2 separate regions of the Homo sapiens genome follow, and region 2 is linked to region 1. Evidence: promoter capture Hi-C in 16 types of primary human blood cells and fetal thymus (Javierre and others, 2016). All regions are on one chromosome and are shown on one strand. Each heading gives the region's core, a stretch centred on a gene start or on the middle of the fragment in contact. The rest is flanking DNA. Distances are from core to core; before and after follow the strand shown.

Region 1 (5,645 bases), core at 1,399-3,898:
TCTTCACCCCACCATCAGCCAATGCGTCCAGAGCCATGAATGCCTGTGGAGACACTCACTAAGCCCCAGGCCATAGGCACTGAAGGGCCTTTCCTTAGGTCTGCTTTCTGATGACTAGAACTAGCTCCAAGGGTCAGCATCCTGTACCAGCCAGCTGTGCCCAAGAGGTGGGCGCCACCCCCAGTCCAAGCCTGCCTGCCAGCCCATCTTGCTGCCTGGGTTCCTAGAAGGCTGAGCGAGCAAATGAGGGCCTCACATAGGCAGGCCCGCTGCCACTGAGCCCCGTGACGGCATCGATGAGGTCCTCTTCCACCTCAGTGCAGAAGCCCACGCTGCTCATGAGCTGCTCCAGGAGCTGCCCATCCTCCACCAGGGCATGGGTGCCCGTGGCGTACACTGTAGCGCCTTCCTGCACTACCACAGGTGTGTTGGTCATGCAGCGAATCACTTTGGGGGCTGGCTGGAATGCCATCAGCTTCTAGGGTGAGGGAGAGAGCCGAATGAGTGGCCAGGGCACGGCTCCCACCAGCACCCACCCATTAGCTGCCATTCGTGGGTCAACCCTCCCCTCACACAAGGGGCATCAGGGCTGAGATGGGCACCTTCTCCACAGAGCTGATGGTGACACCAGCCGCACAGGAGACCACGATGTGTCTGGCTTGCACGTCGGCCCCAATCTCATCCAGGATGAAGGGGATGATATGTGGCTTCACAGCCAGAAACAGGACGTCGCTGTGCTTCACCGTCTCCTTGTTGCTGCGTGTCAGGTTCACACCCATCTTCTGCAAGAGGAGACTCCCAGCTCACAGTGCTGGAGCAGCCTGGCTATGCCAAGGCCTCCCAGGGAGCAGCTGAACCCCTGCCAAACCGATTCTGCCAGATGCAGCCTGGAATTCTTAGCTTTATGCCCTCAGGGTTCTACCCCTACCCCAAATAATACAGTTTCCCATTGTTGCTACTGGACAAGTAAGCACAGGCTTGGAGCATGACAAGCTTCTCCATGGTAACCAGGAAGTGGCTGCCCTTCTTCCCTGCCAATCTTCTGGTATCTAAGGCACTCCTCTGCCAGGTAAGAAGGCCCTATGGTGAAAGTGGCAGGGCAAAGGGAAATGCTAATACCTGGTCGTTAAAAGCACAGCTGAGTCAGGCCCTATCCTAACCCTGGCCGCTTGTTCGTGGGGACCGCACAGTCTCCATGTGGTCCAGGGCTAGGCTGGAAGCCATCCATCCCTCTATGACTCCAAACTGAGAAGCAGGACCCTCCAGTGCTAGGGACATCAGCCCACCCTAGGCACAGACACTGCCTGTCACCTGCCTCATCAGCCATCCTCTCCCACAGAGCACAGGTTTTGGGTGAAGACTTGGAATATGTTTTTGGAGAACAGAACAACTAACTCACCAGATTCTTCCCAATATGCTCATTCACGACTCAGAATAACAGCAAAGTGGCCACTGTTGTAAATGAGGAAATAGCCTCAAAGTGGCTGAGTACTTTAAGGTCATACAACTCGTCTATTAAGAAAAATGGCTGAGCGCAGTGGCTCACCCCTGTAATCCCAGCACTTTGGGAGGCCAAGGCGGGCAGATCACTTGAGGCCAGGAGTTCGAGACCAGCCTGGCCAACAGTATTCTCTACCAAAAATACAAAAATTAGCTGCGCGTGGTGGATGCCTGTAATTCCAGCTACTCGGGAGGCTGAGGTGGGAGGCTGAGGTGGGAGGCGGAGGTTACAGTGAGCTGAGATCGCGCCACTGCACTCCAGCTTGGGCGACAGAGTAAGACCCTGTCTGAAAAAAAATTTAAAAAATGAGTATTTATTAGGTACCTACTATGTGCCAGGTGCTTTCATCACATAATCACCTCAGTTAATCCTCTACCACTCCAGTGTCTGGATCTGACCCCCAGTTATGTCTCCCTGGGTGTTCCCACCACATTGAGCTGCCCAAGAGAAGGTGGAAAGATTGTCACGTTCCTGGAGTAAAGGTCACCGCCGGCCAAAGACCAGCACTTGGGCGCAGGGGCCGGCCAGACTCACTTCATCTCAGGTCATCCTTTTCCTGGGCCTCCACCCGCTTCCCACTCCGCCCGGCTCCACCTACCCTGAGCGCGGACACCGTGGGCAGGTTCATTTCTGGGGAGCTGGCTATTATCTTGTGAGCCGACAGGATGCCTGCAGAAGACAGAGCTTTTCAACTAGGGGTCGCGGCCCAGCCCGTTACCACGCTTTCCCTGGCTCTAAAACCCAGAGCCGTCCTAACAGTGCCAGTCTCCCTCTCCCCCTCAACCCTCTACGAGGACAGAAGACGCACTTGCTGCTCAACCAGAGTCTCATCTACCCCACCGGACGCAAACTCCCCTTTCATTCGCTCATGCTGGTGGGACGGAGGCCCCCTCGGGCCTCGGGACCGCCCGCGAAGCCGCCTCCCGCCTCCACGCGCTTGCCTGCGGCCGTGAAGCCCCGCGCCAGAGCATAGGCCAGCTGGCCGGCCCCGATGAAGCCCACGCTCATGGTCCGCGGTTCACGCCTCCTGGGAGCCGCACGAACCCCCTCAGCGAGGGACCGGAAGTAACGCTAGGGGAAGGGCGGACAGCGCAGGGGCGAACGGGCGGCGTGCCGAGGACCGGCGAGCTAACAGCAGCTTCTGGGATGGTGCAACCCTATTCTCCCCCGGCGGATATCTCCCGGGCGGCTGATGGCGCCTTAGGCCACGTGGCCCCGCCCCGTCCGGGCGACCAATCAGTGGCCAGGATCTCGGGGCAGGCCAATCCGCGGCCCGAGCCAGGCCGCGTGCCCGCCTCCTCCGCTCGCGACTGGAGGGCGGAACTCCGGGCTGGAGTCCCGGAAGCCCCTGTGGCAGCTTGGCGTGAGCTCCAGGCGCCCGCCGGCCCAGGACGCCCGGCCGCCCCCACCCCCCCCCCCCACCCCAAGGCTGAGGTCGCCGTCCCTAAGCCACCTCGGGCTCAGGGCTGAGGCCTGGCCCAGGCCTGGCTAATATTATTTCTGGCGCTGGCCATCAGATGCCCCTCAAGGCCCACAGGAATTCTCCAGGTTGCCGATTTGCGGGGATGAACGAGGCCCTCCTGGCGTAGGTTCAGACCAGGTGGCGGCGAGGTTCAGACCAGGTGGCGGCGAGGCGGCACCAGGGTGGTCAGCCGCGGCTTATTCACTTGAACTTGAGTGTTTCTCGCGAATTTGTCCAAACTAGATACAAGAAGGACAAGTTCGAGTCTCCGACTCTTCCGCGATCCCGCACCCCCCAGCCCCTTGCTGTCACTTGCCTTTTTTTTTTTGAGACGGAGTTTCACTCTTGTTGCCCAGGATGGAGTGCAGTGGCACGATCTCGGCTCACTGCAATCTCCGCCTCCCGGGTTCAAGCGATTCTCCTGCCTCAGCCTCCCCAGTAGCTGGGATTACAGGCGCCCGCTACCACGACCGGATAATTTTTGTATTTTTAGTAGAGACGGGGTTTCACCATGTTGTTCAGGCTGGTCTTCAACTCCTGACATCAGGTTATCCGCCCGCCTCGGCCTCCCAAAGTGCTGGGATTATAAGCGTGAGCCACCGCGCCCGACCTGTCTCTTGCTTTTAAAAGCTCCACCAATGTGATGTTTCCTTTTCTATCAGTAGTAAATATAAGGGGCCGCAGGGAACAAATGACAGAAGTAGAGAGGAAGAAGGTGGCGTTCCTAGAGGACTCAGAAGAGCTGAGGACCCTTAGTTCCCATGGTCTCTCTGCTAGCTTTTCTAGTCCTTTCCGTGTAATGCACACCCCCACTCCCAGGCAAGGGGCTGCTTTCTGTGAACTTCCCTGAGCAAGTCCCCAGGCCCTCAGTTTGTGCACCCTTTAAAGTGAGGACCAAATATAATATTTACTATTAAGCAAAATAATGCTATGTTTTATTTATTTATTTATTTATTTATTTATTGAGACAGAGTTTCGCTCTTGTTGCCCAGGCTGGAGTGCAATGGCACGATCTCGGCTCACTGCAACCTCCACCTCCCGGGTTCAAGCGATTCTCCTGCTTCAGCCTCCTGAGTAGCTGGGATTACAGGCATGCGCCACCACGCCCGGCTAATTTTTTGTATTTTTAGTAGAGACAGGGTTTCTCCATGTTGGTCAGGCTGATCTTGAACTCCCGACCTGAGGTGATCTGCCTGTCTCAGCCTCCCAAAGTGCTGGGATTACAGGCGTGAGCCACAGCACCTGGCCTCTGTATTTTTTAAATTCGAAAAGTAATACAGACATATTGAAGAAAGTTTGGAGATAAAAGTAAAAATAAAATCATCCACATCATACTTCCCAAAGATAGTTTCTTACAAACATTTTTGGTGTATTTCCTTACACTATCATGTCCTATGCATATCTACTTTCTCCATCATTGGAAATAAATGATGTACATGTAGTTTTGAAATTTCTCTAGTAGACATGAGCATTTTCCAATGTCACTGAAAAGTTATTTAAGACAGTTTTAATGACTACTTATTATATGTATGTACCTTACTGATTTAACCATTCAAAGGTCAATGTTAGGTTTATTGATTTATATAATAGATAACTTACTGAGCCAGGTTCTGGGAGTATAGCTATGAACAAAACAGACAAGTTCCTGTCCTCATAAAACATCAATTTATTATTATTTCTTATTTTTATTTATTTATTTATTTTTGAGACGGAGTCTTTGTTACCCAGGCTGGAGTGAAGTGGCATGATCTCGGCTCACTGCAACCTCCATCTCCCGGGTTCAAGCGATTCTCCTGTCTCAGCCTTCCGAGTACCTGGGATTACAGGCATGTGTCACCACGCCTGGCCAATTTTTGTATTTTTAGTAGAGATGGGGTTTCACCATGTTGGCCAGGCTGGTCTCCAACTCCTGACCTCAGGTGATCCACCCGCCTCAGCCTCCCAAAGTGCTGGGATCACAGACATGAGCCACCACTCCTGGCCTTCAATTTTTTAAATTTTTGTTCATATTATTGTGATAAAATCTTTGCCTGACTCATTATTTTCTTAACATGACTCCCAGAAGTGAGATTTGTAAGGTCCAGTGGTTTGGGGCTTTAAGAGCTCCCATAGCTGCCATGTTGCAGCATAGCCTAATGGTTACCAGCGTAAAGCTCTGAAACCAGAAACCCAGCAGAAACCAAACTGGCTGAAGGAAAAGGGGGGCTTCTGTACAGCGCTTGGGAGAGGCACAGGGGAGCTCACAGACCAGAAGGGGCACCTACAGAGAGCAGGACCTCAGGAATGGAACTAGAACACTGCGCTGCCAGCACTTCCCCTCTTCTCTTTGTCTCATTTCTGTTTGCCTGCATTTGGCCTCCCTTTTGTTGTAGAGGAGTCTTTGTCAGGTAGTGAGGAAGTTGGGGGTTTACCCTCCTTCACAACTTCCTAATGCTGCCTGCTCCTCTGCAGGATACTCACCCTCCCCATAGTCCACCAGGGCACTGCAGGGCCCTTTGCTTTTCCTGGCTGTGGTCTGTTGTGGGGAGCTCTGGATCTGACCTGCAATACAGGAGGTTGTGCTGAAGCTGAATGTGTGTTTTGGAGTGAGGTGTGGGGGACACTTGTGTCTCACTCCTTTCTGACCCCTTACATACACCCATCCCTTACCTGGTTGCCTTGCGTTGATATCTCCCGTTTCCG
Region 2 (5,645 bases), core at 1,162-3,661, 200 kb after region 1:
AAGGCCAGAGGCCGCAGTGAGGGGCACCGAGTGGCGGGCTCCTCCGCACCACCCCCGGGCTTTATAATAAAAGTCGCCGTTGTTTAAGAGCCAGGTCGGAGGCGCCGCTTTCTGGGCGGTGAAAGCCGAAGCGAGAGCGGGCAATTCGCTGCGGCGGCGGCCGCTTCCTGGGCGTCGGTCCAGTGCCCCGGCCCGGCCTGGGAGACCCGCACCAACCCCGGGAGGGAGGACGGGGCGCGGGCGCAGCCTAGGGGCCGAAGCACTGCACGCACGGCCGGCGCGGGGGCAGAGGGGAGACAGGGAAGCCTGAGCTCCGCGCTGCTGAAGGCTCCGGGGATGGGTGGGCGGCGGTGAGGTAGTCTTGCCCGGGCCCTGCCCGCGTGGGCGCTTTCTGAGTCTCTGTCGCGTGACGGAGGCGGGACCTAGGCTGTGTCTCCTGCGGGGCGAAAGCACGGAAGAGATCCGAGGGCATTTCTTGAGCCTGGCAGGAGGCCAGGGGTTTTACAGGGCAGGAAGGAACCTGGAGGAACCGAGGAGCCACGTTGTTGGTTGGAAAGAAGGGTGGCCAGGTGGGGAGGAGTCTGGCAAAGGGTCCCAGACAGCAGGAAGGGCACCTGTGAAGCCGCCCTGCCGAGTGTGTGGTAGAGGCGGGGTGAAATGAGCACTGCTCATAAAAGTGACTGTTGTGATTTTTTATGAGATGGAGTCTCGCTCTGTCGCCCAGGCTGGAGTGCAGGGGAGCAACCTCGGCTCACTGCAACCTCCGCCTCCCGGGTTCACGCCATTCTCCTGCCTCGGCCTCCCCAGTAGCTAAGATTACAAGGCGCCCGCCACCACGCCCGGCTAATTTTTTTGTAGTTTTAGTAGAGACGGGGTTTTGCCATGTTGGCCAGGCTGGTCTCAAACTCCTGAGCTCAAGTGATCCGCCCCTCTCGGCCTCCCAAAGTGCTGGGATTACATGCGTGAGCCCCCAGCCTAAAAGTGACTGTTTACTACAATAAGTACAAATAATAGGTGACCAGCACTTGTCTGCTGAGGCCCTGGGGCTGGGTGTGTTTAGGGGACCCCTCTCCTCTCCAGGCCCTCCCCAAGCCTGCCCACTGATGGGGAAGCTGCAGGGCTATCCCTCCAAGGGGAGGCCCTGCCAGGCCAGGGAAGGTCCAAGTGGGTGCTCACCAAGCTTCCTAGGTTCCCAGTTTTCTTGAAACCATCTTCCCAGCACAGTCATCTCCCGTGGTTGCCTTTAGCAAGTCACATCCCCTGACTCTTTAACATCTCGGTCCTGGCAGTTTCTTGGTATGGCACCATCTCCCTATGTGGACCACAGGTTATCTATCACACTGACCCGCTGTCCCTCACACACAGTCACTCACCTGTGACACTTGGAAAGGACTAGCTCCACAGGCCTGGCCAGGGCCCAAAGGGAGGTGGCCAGCAATCGAAATCAACCCTGATGACTAAGTAGAAAAGGAGTCCTTGGGAGTATTGTGGGGAGCTCAGGGAGCTGACCAGGAGTCTGGATGGCCACAGCCACAGCCGGGGACAGTCTTGGGAGGTGACTGTGGTCACCACCACTACTGGGCTGCAGCATCGCTGAATGCAGCCCCTGCCACAACTCCACAGGCATTGGCTGTAATGATGGGCGGGGGTGCTGGGCACCACAGCGGGGAGGGAGGGCTCCTGTCCCTGCATCTTTGCCTGGGTTAGCCAGATGCCCAGGAAGGGAGAAGGAATGCTGCCCCCTTTAGCCTTTGAGGTGGGAGGAGGGGCCCTGGCTCCCATGACAGCTCACAAAATGGGGATTGCCCCTTACTAGGAGCGGTGTGCGGATGCTGATCAGCCCACCGAATGCTCACCACTGAGGGGCTGCAGCGGCCAGGTGTGAGGGGAAGAGACTGCAGAGAGGTGACAAGGCCGTCAAAGGAGAGGAGCCACCACTGGGGAGCCTGGTGGCTCAGGAAGGCAGCTGGTGTGGGTGTGGGAGAGTCGGATCAGAAGGCCAGCACTGCTCATCATGGAGCACCTGGGAGAGCAGCAGCGACTCAGCTCCTGGCACCAGGTGAGGCAGGAAAATAGGGTCTGGAGGCAGGGAACATAAGGCTCATTCACACTTCAGCTATAACCGGAAATATCCTCTCCATAGGGCATATCAGGTAAATGACTTTGTAACTTTACTTCATCCTCTCTGTTTATATAGGGCATACCCGAAGTAACCAATGAATCCTCTAGGGGGTATTTAAACTCCCCCAAATTCTGTAACAGGGCCTTTTGAATCCTACACTCAGGCCCATTCCCACACAGTGGAGTGTACTTTCATTTTCAATAAAATCTTCATTCCTTCCTTGCTTTGTTTGTGTGTCTCTTCCAATTCTTTGTTCAAGATGCCAAGAACCTGGACACTCTCCACCTTTAACACAGGGGTTGTTTAATTTACCTTTTGCCTTAGAAATATAAAAAGATACACAGTAAAGGTGTGTAAAAGGAAAGGCCTCTTTCACCCTTACCCCACCCCCATCCCTCCCTAAAGGTCCCTGTGATTAGCTTGGTGTGTGTCCAGCCCTCCCTCTGCATTTCACACGGATATGCGAACAGTGGATCAGGCTTGGGTTTGTTTCTTCCAATAAACGGCATCATGCGGTATGTATTGTTCTTTAATGTGCTTTTGGAGACGTTTCCAATCCAGCAAACCCTTTTATCCATTTCATAATATTCCGTAGAATGCATGCTCCCCATCTTGAGGGAAGTTTGGGTTGTTTCATTCTGCTTTGTTAGGACGAATGCCTGCTTTTGTGCACACAGTTGAGTATGGGGCTGGGATTTGAGGGGAAGAGGCTCTGTTTGAGTCCCTGTTGATGTGAGGTGAAGGTGTGTTGGTCCGGCACTAAGCAGGCAGTGGACAATACATGCTGAGCTGGGTTGGGAGTGGACTCTTGGGATTCGGGACTCAAAAATAATGTACGGCCAGGTAAATTGCTGGTTTTGCTTCTGGGTCACAGGAAGGGCTGCGGTCCCCGCAGACCCAGATGCGTCCACTAGATGGCGCCAAAGCCAGTAAGGTGAGGCGCTTGTGACAGAAGCCCCGACTTGCTGCAGGAGTCTGGGCCCAGGGTCTGACTCCTGAGCTCCTAGGAGATGGATGAATATTCTTCCTGCACCGCCAGCTGCCTCGCTTAAACGTGGGGAGGCTGAAGAGGGTGCAAAGCTGGGTGAACATGAGTGATTAGACAGGATGTGCCCTGGCCAAGACAGGGAGCTGAAATTCAGTCTGTGGAACAGGCTGTGATGGCCCAGAGGAAATCCATAGGTGGGAGGAAAACTATGGACCCTGTGCTCCATATTGCCAGGACCTGCAGAGGAACTAGCTCCTGCAGAAGATGCAGGATTTGGACGGGAAGATTGGGCAAGGGTTCTGTCTACTGGGCACTGAAGGTTTGATGGGGACACTGGGATGGTCCCTGCCACCAAAGCAGCTCAAGCTCAGGCAGAGGAAATAGAAACTGGACAAATGCAGTATTTCTTATGGGCACTGCTCTAAGGAGTAATTTGGAATCCAGTAGGGTGATGTAAGTGAAGGTGCTTTGAAACCTCCCAAAGCTCTCGCCCAGGTAAGGAGGTTTGTGGTCCTTGTCACCATTTACCCAGGAAAGCTTCAAAGCAGCAGCGGCGGCGGCGGCGGCGGCGGCGGCAGCAGAATTTCCCTCCTTCCCTCCTGTTACTCTCCCAGCCTCCTCTCCCTCCTATCACTCTCCTAAGTTCAGAGCTGACCCCACTCCTCTGCTACCCATGGTGGTAGCCAGGCCTGTGCCTCTCCTAGCATCAGAAGCTGCCCCAGGCTCCCAGGACTGGAGCTCAGATCTGATTTTGAAAAACTGAATGAATGGGTGAGAGCGGTGGCTTATGCCTGTACTCCCAGCATTTTGGAAGATTGAGGTGGGTGAATTGCTTGAGCTCAGGAGTTCAAGACCAGCCTGGGCAACATGGTGAAACCCTGTCTTTACAAAAAAATACAAAAATTAGCTGGACATGGTGGCACACACCTGTAGTCCCAGCTACCTGGGAGGCTGAGGTAGGAGGATTGCTTGAACCACGGGAGACAGAGGTCGCAGTGAGCCAAGATTGTGCCACTTTACTCCAGCCTGGATGACAGAGCGAGATTGTCTCAAAAAAAAAAAAAAAAAGAAAAAAGAAAAAAAAAAAGCCGGGCACGGTGGCTTATGCCTGTAATCCCAGGACTTTGGGAGGCCAAGGCGGGTGGGTCACGAGGTCACGAGATCGAGACCATCCTGGCTAACACAGTGAAACCCCGTCTCTACTAAAAATACAAAAAATTAGCTGGGCGTGGTGGCGGGCACCTGTAGTCCCAGCTGCTCGGGAGGCTGAGGCAGAAGAATGGCATGAACCTGGGAGGTGGAGGTTGCAGTGAGCTGAGATCGCGCCACTGCACTCCAGCCTGGGCGACAGAGCAAGAATCCGTCTAAAAAAAAAAGAGAGAGTCCCAGTGCTAAAACTGAGAGTCCTGGGCAAACTGGAACAATTGATCACACAATAAAGTGGGGGTTCTTGGGCTGGGTATGGAGGCTCATGCTTATAATCTCAGTGCTTTGGGAGGCCAAGGTGGAAGGATTGCTTGAGCCCAGGGCTTCAAGACCAGCCTGGACAACATAGCAAGACCCTATCTCTACAAAAGAAAAAACAAGCACACACTTGTAGTCCCAGCTACTTGGGAGGCTGAGGCAGGAGGACTGCTTAAGGCCAGGAGGTGGAGGTTGCAATGGGCTATGATGGCACCTCTGCACTCCAGCCTCAGTGACAGAGCAAAACCTCATTTTGAAAACACACACATGAGGGGCGCTGGGAATAGCCGCTCATGTCGGCTGACGGAGCGGTGTGGGGCCGCATGCGAAGCTGCCTCCGCGCCTTCCCCGAGCGGCTGGCCGCCTGCGGGGCCGAGTAAGGACTTCTGCGCGCGGGAGTTCGAGGCCCTGCGGAGCTGCTTCGCCGCCGCGGCCAAGAAGACGCTGGAGGGAGGCTGTTAGGAGGGACTCTGAGCTTCACACCTGTCTGCTGCCGTGGTTGCAGAGCCCTAGTCCTGATGGCCCCCGGTGGCATACATTGAATGCCTAGGGCAGAAAGGAAGTGGGAATGGCGAAGATGTGACGTGCCTCGGTGTTAGATACTGTTTCTTCTTAACAAGTTGAGGCGTGGGTAGAGCAGGAACTGGTTTTCCAGCATTGTGTCCGTAAACCTGAGTCAGAATAAGATGTAACAGAAGCCAGATAAAGACTCTGTCAAATCCTGCAAAAAAAAAAAAAAGAAAAAAAAGAAAACACACACACACACACATGCACACAATGCATAAAGTGTTTCTGAAACTTTGGTGTGCATGAGAGACACCTGGGGACTTACAAAAACACAGATGGCTGGCCCCACCCTAGAGTTTCTAATTTAGTAGGTCCAGGGTGGGGTCCGGTAATTTGCATTTCTAACAAGTTTCCTGATACTGCTGCTGTTGCTCTTGGTTGGGGCCCAAACTTCCAGAACAACTGGTCTGAATGAAGGGCTGGGTCCGGGACCTGCAAGTCCCACTGTGCTGCTTGCCCCGGTACCTCCTCCTAAGTCTGGCCCAGCAGGAAACGGAGCGCGGG

The links. The method cuts DNA at HindIII sites, captures the fragments that hold promoters and counts their contacts. A CHiCAGO score of 5 or more calls a contact.
Region 2: a fragment that was not itself captured here is called in contact with the fragment with the promoter of PYCR2 in region 1 in 1 of 17 cell types (neutrophils); the score reaches 5.2 in neutrophils.

Annotation. Positions count from the first base shown.
Region 1 is chr1:225,921,602-225,927,246 of GRCh38, forward strand. PYCR2 (pyrroline-5-carboxylate reductase 2) reads right to left here and starts at 2,649. Exons shown (of 7, transcript NM_013328.4): 1 at 2,443-2,649; 2 at 2,100-2,170; 3 at 603-782; 4 at 257-478; 5 at 1-43. The coding sequence starts at 2,509. It overlaps MIR6741 (microRNA 6741), which reads right to left and starts at 541; the gene lies at 479-541. RefSeq lists silencers at 2,246-2,375, 2,686-2,775, 2,916-2,995 and an enhancer at 2,546-3,195. The HindIII fragment of the contact is 26,114 bases long and covers 992-5,645 here.
Region 2 is chr1:226,122,311-226,127,955 of GRCh38, forward strand. It overlaps the pseudogene LOC112268255. Among named protein-coding and RNA genes, the nearest start is that of ACBD3-AS1, 23 kb to the right of the region's middle. RefSeq lists a silencer at 1-343 and enhancers at 434-663, 2,898-3,192. The HindIII fragment of the contact is 2,467 bases long and covers 1,179-3,645 here.